Regions from separate parts of the Homo sapiens genome. Here all the other regions are linked to region 4. The links are contacts of gene promoters, found by promoter capture Hi-C in blood cells and fetal thymus (Javierre and others, 2016). All regions are on one chromosome and are shown on one strand. The core of a region is centred on a gene start or on the middle of the fragment in contact, and the rest is flanking DNA. Distances in the headings are between cores, read along the strand shown. Region 1 overlaps TCAIM (T cell activation inhibitor, mitochondrial). Region 2 holds the start of TCAIM (T cell activation inhibitor, mitochondrial). Region 3 overlaps TOPAZ1 (testis and ovary specific TOPAZ 1). Region 4 holds the start of KIAA1143.

The links. The method cuts DNA at HindIII sites, captures the fragments that hold promoters and counts their contacts. A CHiCAGO score of 5 or more calls a contact.
Region 1: a fragment that was not itself captured here is called in contact with the fragment with the promoter of KIAA1143 in region 4 in 1 of 17 cell types (neutrophils); the score reaches 5.2 in neutrophils.
Region 2: a contact is called between the fragment with the promoter of TCAIM here and the fragment with the promoter of KIAA1143 in region 4, in 2 of 17 cell types (monocytes and neutrophils). The highest score is 5.7, in monocytes.
Region 3: a fragment that was not itself captured here is called in contact with the fragment with the promoter of KIAA1143 in region 4 in 2 of 17 cell types (neutrophils and erythroblasts); the score reaches 5.2 in neutrophils.

What each region holds. Positions count from the first base shown.
Region 1 is chr3:44,356,494-44,359,193 of GRCh38, forward strand. It overlaps TCAIM (T cell activation inhibitor, mitochondrial), which reads left to right. Exons shown (of 11, transcript NM_173826.4): 3 at 1,248-1,383. Among named protein-coding and RNA genes, the nearest start is that of TCAIM, 19 kb to the left of the region's middle. The HindIII fragment of the contact is 2,512 bases long and covers 38-2,549 here.
Region 2 is chr3:44,337,349-44,340,050 of GRCh38, forward strand. It overlaps TCAIM (T cell activation inhibitor, mitochondrial), which reads left to right and starts at 1,418. Exons shown (of 11, transcript NM_173826.4): 1 at 1,418-1,486. It overlaps LOC105377055 (a long non-coding RNA gene), which reads right to left and starts at 770. Exons shown (of 4, transcript XR_940782.4): 1 at 357-770. RefSeq lists enhancers at 431-1,084, 769-938 and a silencer at 1,079-1,468. The HindIII fragment of the contact is 5,445 bases long and covers 1-2,702 here.
Region 3 is chr3:44,319,078-44,321,908 of GRCh38, forward strand. TOPAZ1 (testis and ovary specific TOPAZ 1) reads left to right here. Exons shown (of 20, transcript NM_001145030.2): 17 at 1,950-2,114. Among named protein-coding and RNA genes, the nearest start is that of TCAIM, 18 kb to the right of the region's middle. The HindIII fragment of the contact is 1,680 bases long and covers 736-2,415 here.
Region 4 is chr3:44,760,176-44,762,875 of GRCh38, forward strand. KIAA1143 reads right to left here and starts at 1,444. Exons shown (of 3, transcript NM_020696.4): 1 at 1,320-1,444. The coding sequence starts at 1,427. KIF15 (kinesin family member 15) reads left to right here and starts at 1,619. Exons shown (of 35, transcript NM_020242.3): 1 at 1,619-1,709. The coding sequence starts at 1,691. RefSeq lists enhancers at 1-599, 1,390-1,669. The HindIII fragment of the contact is 21,704 bases long and covers 1-2,700 here.

The sequences.
Region 1 (2,700 bases), core at 44-2,543, 400 kb before region 4:
CCAGGGCAACAGAGTGAGACTCTGTCTCAAAAAAAAAAGCTTAGGATGGAAAAGGTAAATTATAACATTTAAAAATAGGTGTCGTGGAAGTGCTTTCAAAAAACCGCAAATAATTTCATTTGGATTTAAACACCGTACTTTTAAAAAACACTCCCAGGTGGGTTACAAAACTTAAGAATGAGAATATCACGGCCAGGTATGGTGGCTCATGCCTGCAATCCCAGTACTTTGGGAGGCTGAGGCGGGTGGATTACCTGAGGTCAGGAGTTTGAGACCAGCCTGACCAACATGGTGAGACCCTGTCTCTACTAAAAATACAAAAAAAAAAAAAAAACAGTCGGCGGTAGTGGCACATGCCTGTAGTCCCAGCTACTCGGGAGGCTGAGGCAGGAGAGTCACTTGAACCTGAGAGGCAGAAGATTGCATGCAGTGAGCCAAGATCATGCCACTGCACTCCAGCCTGGGCAACAGAGCAAGACTCCATCTCAAAAAAAAAGAATGAGAATATCAAGTTATCCAACTAGTATAATTTTAGCATGCTAATAATGAGGGAATGAACTAAAAGACATCTGTATCTCTTTTTAAGTATAATAATTATCAAAATGTTTGCTACTATAAAGAAAAAATTGAGCCAGGCATGGTGGCTCATGACTGTAATCCCATTGCTTTGAGAGGGTAAGGCAGGAGTATTACTTGAGGCCAGCAGTTTGAGATCAGCAAAAGAATTAGTTGGGTGTGGTGGCACGTGCCTGTAGTTCCAGCTACTTGGGAGGGTAAGGTGGGAGGATCACTTGACCCCCGGAGATCACACCGCTGCACTCCAGCCTGGGCAACAAAGCAAGACTCTGTCTGAAAGAAAAAAAGAGAGAAAGAGATAGATATAGACAGATATATATAGAAAGAGAATTACACTATTGGATATTAAGATTTTTTGATCTGAATAAGAAACTTATAAAGAAAATTGTTATCATTTGCAGTGAAGTCAGCTGAATTTCAAAGTGGAGTATTGAGGGGAAATTATTATGTTATTTAATATTTCTCATTTTGCACCAGAAAAATTTATAACCACTGTTTTAGAAACCATGTGGTACTCACTGCTTGTAAAACTAATAGATTTCAGAAAACCACAAAGTATCTATCTTGTTTCTGCTGTGCATAGTACGTTTAGTTTTATTGTCACTTATACATTGAGGATTTGTGTGTGTGTGAGTGCCTCAATGAATAACCAGTCCACATCTTTTTAAAAGGTTATGTCTAGAGAAGATATTTCCACACTGGTTTCCCTTTTCAAGAGCTTTATCGGGAGCTGAAGCAGTCAATGCCTTGAGGCCTTTCTATTTTGCAGTACATCCAGATTTCTTTGGACAGCACCCCGTAGAAAGGGTAAACATTTATTTATTTTTAAACCATTAGTGTACATTTCTGCTTATTTACCTTTGATACAATATAATACATAGAGTTCTATAAATGTGGATTATTCTGTTGTGGTGATATAATCAATGCTTTGAACTAATTTGAAATGTAGATACTGAAAATTGAAAATAGAGCTTTTTTTATGAAAGCTGTCATTGTTTTGTGCAGGCAATAAAGCTGTCATTTAAACTCTTTAGAGTACTAGTAATCATGTTTTTGGTACCAATTTTTGAAGTACAGTTGAGGGTTTGAAAGAAAACTTGAGACCTTTATTATCATGATCAATCTCTCTCTCTTTTTTTTTTTTAAGGATGATACATGGAAGAGTTTTCAATGCCCTAGTGATTTTTCCTTATGATGCATGCTGCTGGACCACTCCCCTACAACATCAGTTAATGTGTGCTCCAGGAATACAAACTGATATGAAAAATGACTTATGGTAGATGTAGTTAAGACAGTCAATATATTTTAACATTAGAAAATACAGTCAGTCCTTCATATCCATGGGTTTTACATCCATGGATTCAACCAACCTCAGACTGAAAATATTAGGGGAAAAAAATACATCTGTACTACACATGAACAAACTTCTCTTTCTTGTCATTATTCCCTGAACAACACAGGATAACAACTACTTACATAGCACTTACATTATATTAGATATTATAAGTAATCTAGAAATGACTTAAAGTATATGGGAGGATACACATAGGTTATTTGCAAATACTACACTATTTTATATGAGAGACTTGAGCATTCGCAGATTTCGGTATCCACGGGAGGTCCTGGAACCAATCCCCTATGGATACCAAGGGACTGCTATGTATTACAAAGCCACATGCTTTGGAATTACTTCAGTGTTCCTTCTATTTTCATTAACACTGATATCTAGTTTAATATGAAAAGGAACTTGAAATCTTGAAAATTAGAACATCGTTATTTTTTTCTACTTGCAATGGAAAATCTATTTTGCTTTTTTGCTTCTAGGAAAATATTCTGATTATGATATGTGATATGTTGGCTACTCAAAGTCAGAACTTTTCAAAGTAATCAGTAAATTGAATCAACAGAAAAATATTCATTAACTCGGGGATGCATTAATAAAGTTTTTAAATTCAAAATGTATAGAAAAATCAAGCTTAGTAATACTTTAATATTATTCTACCAATGTATTTTTTTTAATTAAGACTTCTGTATGCAGCAGGGCATGGTGGCACACCTGTAGTCCCAGCTACTAGGGAGGCTGAGGCAGGAGGATTACTTGAGCCCAGGAATTCAAGCCTGGGC
Region 2 (2,702 bases), core at 168-2,667, 420 kb before region 4:
GAACCCAACTTGGATTGAATTTGCCAAAGTTCAGACAATGGAAAAGGGACATGAACTCAAATTGTTCCCAAATCTCCGTTTGCCACCTTGTGGAGAGGCATAACACTTGGGGGATTTTCTGAGGACTTTGTACTAGTGGCATATGTAACTCCTGTGCAAGTATGTGAGGGTAATAAAGTATCTGGATGGTAGGGGACAGGGGTTGATTGGGGCATGGAGCAGATGGCAAGGGGTGCACAATGAGTTTTGACATGCGTGCATTACGGAGATGCATAGAAATTCTAGTTACTTTTAAATTTGGAGGGAAGAAGTCTGGTACCAGATGCTGGCTTTAGGTAACAGGGAAGTCTAGTTACCTCTAAATTCCTCAGGTAAGGAGTTTCTGCCTAAGGATGGTCGGCTTCATGGCCACCAGGTGATCTTTGCTTTCAATTCTATTGGCTTGATTTCATCTGTGGCAGTTTCTGGGGGGAATCAAAATTATAGGAACAAAATAAAACTAACAGTAAAACTTTCATGCTGACTGGGGAATGCTTAACGTTTAAAAATAGGTGCTGAAGGGTCCAAAGCAAACAACACAAGCCGGAAAAGAAATGTTTAAAAGTTAGCTATATTTATACAAGGAAAACCAAAAGAAATACTTAAATGAGACTTTTAAAATTCGAGGCTCTCCACTGAGACTTGTTCCCTGGCGCCAGCTCCGGGAGTTCCGCAGAGCCTCGCCCCCTGCCAGGGCGCCCGGGGCGAAGGACCGCACGGCGCATGCGCGCCTCCTCCAGCAGTCCCTTTCCCCTTCTTCCCCAAGATCCAGCGCGTGCTCGGTTGCCCTTCTCCGTTCCTTGCAGGCCCTTGGGTCAGGACCCACCACCTGCCGGACCATCATTTTCCGAGTCCCTCCGGCCTAGTCGGAGTGCTCGCTCGCGCCTCCTAAAGCTCTCAGCCGAGCGCGCCGAGACCCCTCAGGGCGGCCGGTAAGAAGGCGGAGGGGCGGGGGCTCAAAGCGCGCGGCGAAGGTGCAGCAGTTACCAGGGTGCTGACGTCAGCTAGAGGCAGGGCACCGCGGAAGGTTGAATCCACGCCCTGGCTGTGCGCAGGCGCCGTAGGGGGAAGGCCTGGCACGCTCCAGCCAACCAGGGCGTCACCTGCAGCTCGTCCCCCTGCCCGGGCTTGCCTCGAGCGCCCTGCCGCCGCCGGAGCGGGGAGGGTGTTGGGGGCAGGTGGAGCCGGGAGGGCCCAGCTGAGAATTCAGGGTTGGGGGCTCAGAGGGCACTGCGGCTAGGAGCCCGTCAAAGCCTGTCGCCCACCGGGGCGAGGGCAGGTGGGAGCGCCTGGCCGTGCGTCGCGCGCTGGTTGGCCAGCTGACGCCCCAGTGCGCATGCGCGTCCGAACAGCCCTGCGGGCGGAGCGACTGTCCTCCCTTCTGGTGTACTGGGTGGGAGGTGGAACTAGTCGGACAAAGCCCTCGCGTCGGACCCTTGCCAGAACTGTAAGGAGCAAGAGGGGAGGGGCTCCGGTGGTGCATTCATGCTCCTCTAGGGGGGAAGCGGGGTCGGAGGGGAGTGCTCAGAGCCACCTTAGCGCAAAGTGCTAACTTTTGAATTGAGGCAGTGCCAGGGGACGCAGTATCCGCATCGCATCTACATTTTAACTCGCTGTGAAATGAGAACGCAAAGACGATTTAGGTTTTATTGTTTCCGACTTATATTTTTCCGAGGTCTTTGATTTACGGGAAATTGTTACGTACTAAATCTCATATAGCGAGATTTAGAAAAGGAAGCTACAGAATCTAGGCTAATGTATCTAATAGCATTTCCTGCTTTTGCTCTTTTTCTTTGCCTTTTTCCCCTACTCTAAGAAGTTCATATTCAACTGAAAAGCCATGAAAATTACCGCTTTTGTCCCTCCTTGATATAACAAACTGCTTTCAGAAACCGTACAAGATAGTCACTAAGGGAAGTCACAGTTCAAATGAGAGTGGCATGATATTAATTTTGTTAAAATAAATTACTTTCAAATAAAAGTTGTGCCAAATGGTCAAAGCTCAATCCTGAGAGCTCTATTTGGCACACACTCGGTGTTAGTTGAAAGTAAGCAAAACAAAACCGTTTTTCGTGTACTCTTCCATAATTTGGATTTTTCACTGATTTAGGTATCTTTCCACCAAATTTGGTTTGAAACTGCACAGATTTAATGCCTCACTTAGAACAGATTTTAGGTAAAATTAGAAATTTTCACTTTATGAAACAGAAACTAATATCACTGTTAAGTAGATTAAAGTAGTCATTTACAATGGTTTGTAAATAAATTTTATCCTTCCCGGTCCTCTGCCCTCTTCCAGGAAAGGCACCATTTCCTTAGAGAAGACCTTCCTGAGCTCTCCCCGCCCCATTCCAAGTGTTGCGTCTGGGAGTTTCTCATATTCTGTGCATGTTTGTATTATTGCATTTACTGCGTTGTTTTATACTTATCTGCTTGTGTCTGTTTTTACACTCCCCCCTCCCTCTAAAAGTCTTTTGAGTATTAGAATTGTCTTAATAATTTTCTAGTCCCAATGCTTTACGCAGGACCTGGCCCATAAGTGGTGATGAATGGGTGAGTTAAAGACTCGGTATGCCTCCCAAGTGTGATAAGACAGTGCAACCTCTTCAGTTATTTTATAGCATTTTCCAAGTGGAAGTATAGTGGGCTAAGTGCAGTATGGA
Region 3 (2,831 bases), core at 326-2,825, 440 kb before region 4:
GATATAGCTTGACCCCTTCCCCCACGGCCAGGTGGCTCAATCCTGCAAAGGAACCAAGGCAAGGCGGGGAAGAACCCTGCTGCCTGATCCCATGCTGCCCCTCACAGACCGTTGGTTGATTGGCAACACTGAACAGGTTTTTAAAAAAGATGGCAACACAGAAAAAAACAAAAACCCAGACAGGGAGATGATGTGGGGAGAGAGCATGCTAGGTCAGATTTTTTTATATACCTAAACAGTTTGATAAAAATTTTAAATGAATCTCCTAAAATACCATATATACTTTCCAAAAAATGTGACCATTACCCTACCTTAAATATAAAGAATAAGTATTAAAGAAAAATGATGCAATTTTTATGAGAAAAGGTTTATATAATCTACTTTTTGTACATGGGATATATCTAACAGATAAAAAATAATTGAACTTATTCAATCAAAGTAAAATTCACTTTATAAGGAATGGTGAACGAACAGTTTTACTTTTAATGGGAATTATGTTTAACAGATGATCATACAGTCTTTGAAGATATTAAATTCATTTACATTTCTCTCTATATTAAAATGTCAGCAAATGTAGAAGCAAATTAATGAAAGTATCTGTCTAAATGAGTTAATATTCTTAAAGCACTTAGAACATTCCTAACACATAGTATAACTCTGTTAGGTCAATCAGTCAATCACATGGGCTCTAGTAATTGAAAAGCTCCTTTTTAAAGCTTTATACTGGATACTAAAAGCTTTCTTTTGTCATGATATATTTGAATTATCAACTTTTTCTTCAATACTTTTTATATTCACTGTGCTAGGAAGGCCACAAAATAAAAGGATTACTTCTACATTTAGTTCAGTTGAAAAAGAGCACCAAAATATGATTTGAATGTTACATATAGTAATGTTTCACTATGTGTATAATGATTGAGTAAATTAGGTAAATGATAAAATATTGACATTTCTAACATTTTAGTACCTCAGTGTTCTGTACTACAGTCTCCCATTGTTTTTCTCAATGTGAAAATCAGAGCAGAAATTAAGGAACTTCAGCATTATAGGTAATATTCTCTTTTTTTAAAGAGGGTCTGAGGTCTGTTGGTTTGAGGGTCGTAGGTGGGTGTGATGGGTACACAGGAGTTAATTTTATTATTATGCTTTTATAACATATATTATTCTTCTGTATACAACAACGATTTCATAATAGAAATTGTTTTTAAAATAGAAAGTGTTAAGAAAAGCTATTCGCTGGTCGGGCGCAGTGGCTCATGCCTGTAATCCCAGCACTTTGGGAGGCCAAGGTGGGCCAATCACAAGGTCAAGAGATCGAGACTGTCCTGGCTGACACAGCGAAACTCCGTCTCTACTTAACATACAAAAAATTTAGCCAGGTGTGGTGGCACGCGCCTGTAGTCCCAGCTACTCAGGAGGCTGAGGCAGGAGAATCACTTGAACCCGGGAGGCGGAGGTTGCAGTGAGCCAAGATTGCGCCACTGCACTGCACTCCAGCCTGGGTGACAGAGTGAGACTCCATCTCAAAAAAAGAAAAGAAAAGAAAAGCTATTCCCCAGTAATACCAAAAACTAATTAAATTATTTATTGTGAAATTGTTAAACTTGTCCACATAAATAATATTTTATGTTAAAGCAAATATTTGTGATAATCTGAACTTTTTTATATAAAAATAAACATTTAAAATTAGTAATTGACTAGTACACTTAGATGAAGAATTAATTAAAAATAAATATAACAAAGTGGCCATTTGTTTGCATCTTCTTCAGATGATGATCATCACTATATAAGTTATTTCTAATAAATTTGAGCCATGGTTATCTTCTCTGAGTACATATGTTTAAGTTTTGCCTGTTTCTTCAAAAGATATATTGAAACATTAGTTGTGATTATACTGTTAAGTGTCATTTTCATGGTATAAACTATTCATATTTTTTTCTTTTTGGAAGAGTCAGAGTGGATAATCAATACGCCTCTGTGGCCTTGTGATAGACTGGATGTGCTTAATCGACATAATTTACTCTGTACAATTGCACATGAAATCTTAGCCAAGAGCCTTTATAGACAGACATTTGAAGTTTTGCAGAATCTACCAGGTTTTCAAAATTCCCAAGGTATGTTTTTTAAAAGTCTATCTTAATTATCTCTTGCCCATCTGGTGTTTAACTGTTAATAAGAAATAGTTATCCACCTGTTTTGATTGAGTTTTATATTCCAGCATATTTTTTAATGAAGTAGTTTTCTGTAAAATATGTTCTCTGCAAATTGAATATACTTTCCTGATGGTTTAAAAAAATCTGAGATGCTTATCTTTGGGTTGTTTGTCAGCAGTTCCTAAGACAAGCATTTTTATCATTCCCTTTTCCCTACTTCTGTCAAGTCATCAGCAAACAATATGTTTAAATGCCCTGAGCAAGCTTTTTCTCTTATCACTGAATAAATACAGAACTTAGTTTACATTACCTAGGAACACAGGTAAACTTGAAAGAAATGGAGGAAGTGAAACAGATGCCAAGTTCAAACGCCAATGTGGGAAATGGTAGTCAGTACTCTTGAATGTTGGGTGTCCATGAGCAAAAGCTTTGGGTCAAGAATGAGCTATGTGATAGGTTCAGAGGATGACGAAAACGTTAACCTGAGGGCCTCCCCTCAGTACTTTCATCGTACTATCTATAAATTTTCATTTTTCCACTTAATTCCACTGTGCTCCTGTATTGTAATGAGCATTCTTATCTGTTTCTCCTTATACAAAGTGAGCTCAATCAGGATGGTACTATTTTCTTTACCTTGGTATTCCTGGCCCAATGGCTGCTATCTAGCAATCTCTTAAT
Region 4 (2,700 bases), core at 194-2,693:
TTTGGTTAAAGGGAATGTTGTGGCTGGTTTGCTCTTCTATCCAGACCACTAAAACTTTCTCTGTATCAGCAATGTAGCTGTTTTGCTTTCTTGTCATTCATGTGTTCAATACTGATCCCTCCGGCCCTAGACAACAATAGTCAGGTGTGGCTCTTTCCTGAAGCTCCTCTTCTTCTATTTAGACCCAGGATATTTACGGCTTCTGCTTACTCTTCTTTTTTTTCTTTTTTTTGAGACGGAGTCTCGCTCTGTCGCCCAGTCTGGAGTGCAGTGGCGCGATCTCGGCTCACTGCAAGCTCCTCCTCCTGGGTTCACGCCATTCTCCTGCCTCAGCCTCCCGAGTAGCTGGGACTACAGGCGCCCGCCACCATGCCTGGCTAATTTTTTGTATTTTTAGTAGAGACGCGGTTTCACTGTTTTAGCCAGGATGGTCTCGATCTCCTGACCTCGTGATCTGCCGCCTCAGCCTCCCAGAGCGCTGGGATTACAGGCGTGAGCCACCAGGCCCGGCTTTTTTTTTTTTTTTTTGAGACGGAGTCTCGCTCTGTTGTCCAGGCTGGAGTGCAGCTGCGCCATCTCAACTCACTGCAACGTCCACCTCCCGGGTTCGAGCGATTCTGTCTCAGCCTCCGGAGTAGCTGGGACTACAGGCATGTGCCACCATGCCCGGCTAATTTTTGTATTTTTAGCAGAGACGGGGGGTTTCACCATATTGGCTATTGGCTCTGCTGGTCTCGAACTCCTGACCTCAGGTGATCCGCCCACCTAGGCCTCCCAAAGTACTGGGATTACAGGCGTGAGCCACTGTGCCCGACCTTCTCTATATTATTTTTATTTATTTTTAATTAACAAAGCATAGAAACAGATTCAGGACATTCCTCCGAAGACGTTCCAGACTCGAGTCCTAGGACATGGTTGGGGCGGGGGTCATTTGATCGAGTGGCCTGTGTCCTTATCTGGAATACGGGACGACGCTGTAACTCTAACTCACCCTGCGAACTCACAGCTTTTGAGGTAAACAAGTGAGAAAGAAGAGACAATAAAGTGATCTTTCTTTACCATCTACCAAGGACCAGGTGGTTTACACGTCAGTTCATTTTCAGGAACACAGCAGCGCTCTGAAAACTACAGAGCTTCCTGGGCGTAGGGGGCTGTGGTCGCTTGAAAAGAACCAGCCTGGGGGTCCGAGTTCCACCGGAATTGGGTTCGAGCGCGGGTGAAAAGAGGGACCCGACAGCACCCACCCTCCAAGTAGAGGCAAAAGTTGAAAGTGGCGGGCTGGCTGCGCTTCCGAAGAAACACGACTGGCGAAGGCTCACCTTAGTCTCTACGGTGGGTCCCTCCCTGTAGCCGACCCGTTCCTTGAAGCGGGCCAGAAACGCCGGCTCGGCTGGCCGCACGTACGATACCTGGTTCCGCTTGCTCATGGTAGCTCTGGGTAAAGACAGAAGACAGGTTCCGCGACGGATTCGCGACGATACAGAGGCGCTTAGCTGTGACGTCACTGGGCCACGCCCCCGATGCGTAGGCCGGGCAACATGGCGGCCTCCATGCGGGCGTCAACGTCCGATCCAAGCGCCAAATTCAAATTTGCGGCCATCTTGAGCGGGCGGAATTCAGTCGCGCGCGGTGCAGTCGGGAGGTGGAGGCACCGGCTGCATTGTTTTCGGGATCGAGGGGTGAGGGCGCTATGGCACCCGGCTGCAAAAGTAAGTCTGGGCCCCCGGCTTCGTTACCCTATTTTTGCCCCCAAATACAGCTGTGAAAGGATGGCAGCCTCGGACCGCCCGCAAGGTTCTTGCTAGGCATGAACTGCAGGAGCTGAGTGACCGGCGGGGACGTTTGGGAATCCCGCTCTGTCGCTCAAAGACAATACGCTAGCCGAAAAGCTCATCCCTTCCTTCAGTGTCCTGTGCGCATGCCAGGAGTCTGGCGCAGTTCTAGGCGCTCGGGATGAGCAGTGGACCTGACGTTCTTCCCTTTCTTTCCCTTGGTTCTGCTGTTTCTTCGCAGGCCTCTTCCCACATCCCGACCAGGGCTACCTCTCTAGATATCCTTGTCTCAGGATCGGCTTTTGCTCCCACCAGCTTCTGCGTATTTCTACATTTCTGACCTTCCTATAGGGAAGGGTTTATTTATATTCCAAACATTTCTTTCTCCTCTTTCCTTAAATAAATGGAATGTTAAAACACAGATGTCAGCAATGTCTTTATGTTCTCACAGTCTCTATTTTCACTTAAAGGAGACCCGTCCGATTTCTTTCTCTTTTTCACGGAGGAGAGCACTGTCATTTTGCTTATGATAAACCCTACAGTTTTCACTAACGTAGTCATTTGCTGTGCCTGTGTACGTGCTCCACTTCTCACATTGCCACATCTCTTAAGGAGTCTTATTTTTGTAAACCTGATTATGAGCTGATTTAATGGGATCTTTGTGAGTGGTCTGAATGGTAATGAGGAGAGGCCTGGATTAGATGATTAAGAATTTGTGAACTTCTGTCATTTGAGCTTTCCAACGCCGTTAATGTTTCTAGCTTTCTGTCAATTGTAGTCGTTTTTGATGGGTTTGTTGTTTCATTAATCTTTTAGGTCGATCACACCTAATCGGAACACCTCCTTATGCTACCTTTTTGCATATAAAATATTCCTTTTCCTTTCATCATTTTCAGTATTCAAGGACTATGAGCTCACAAAATGGTAC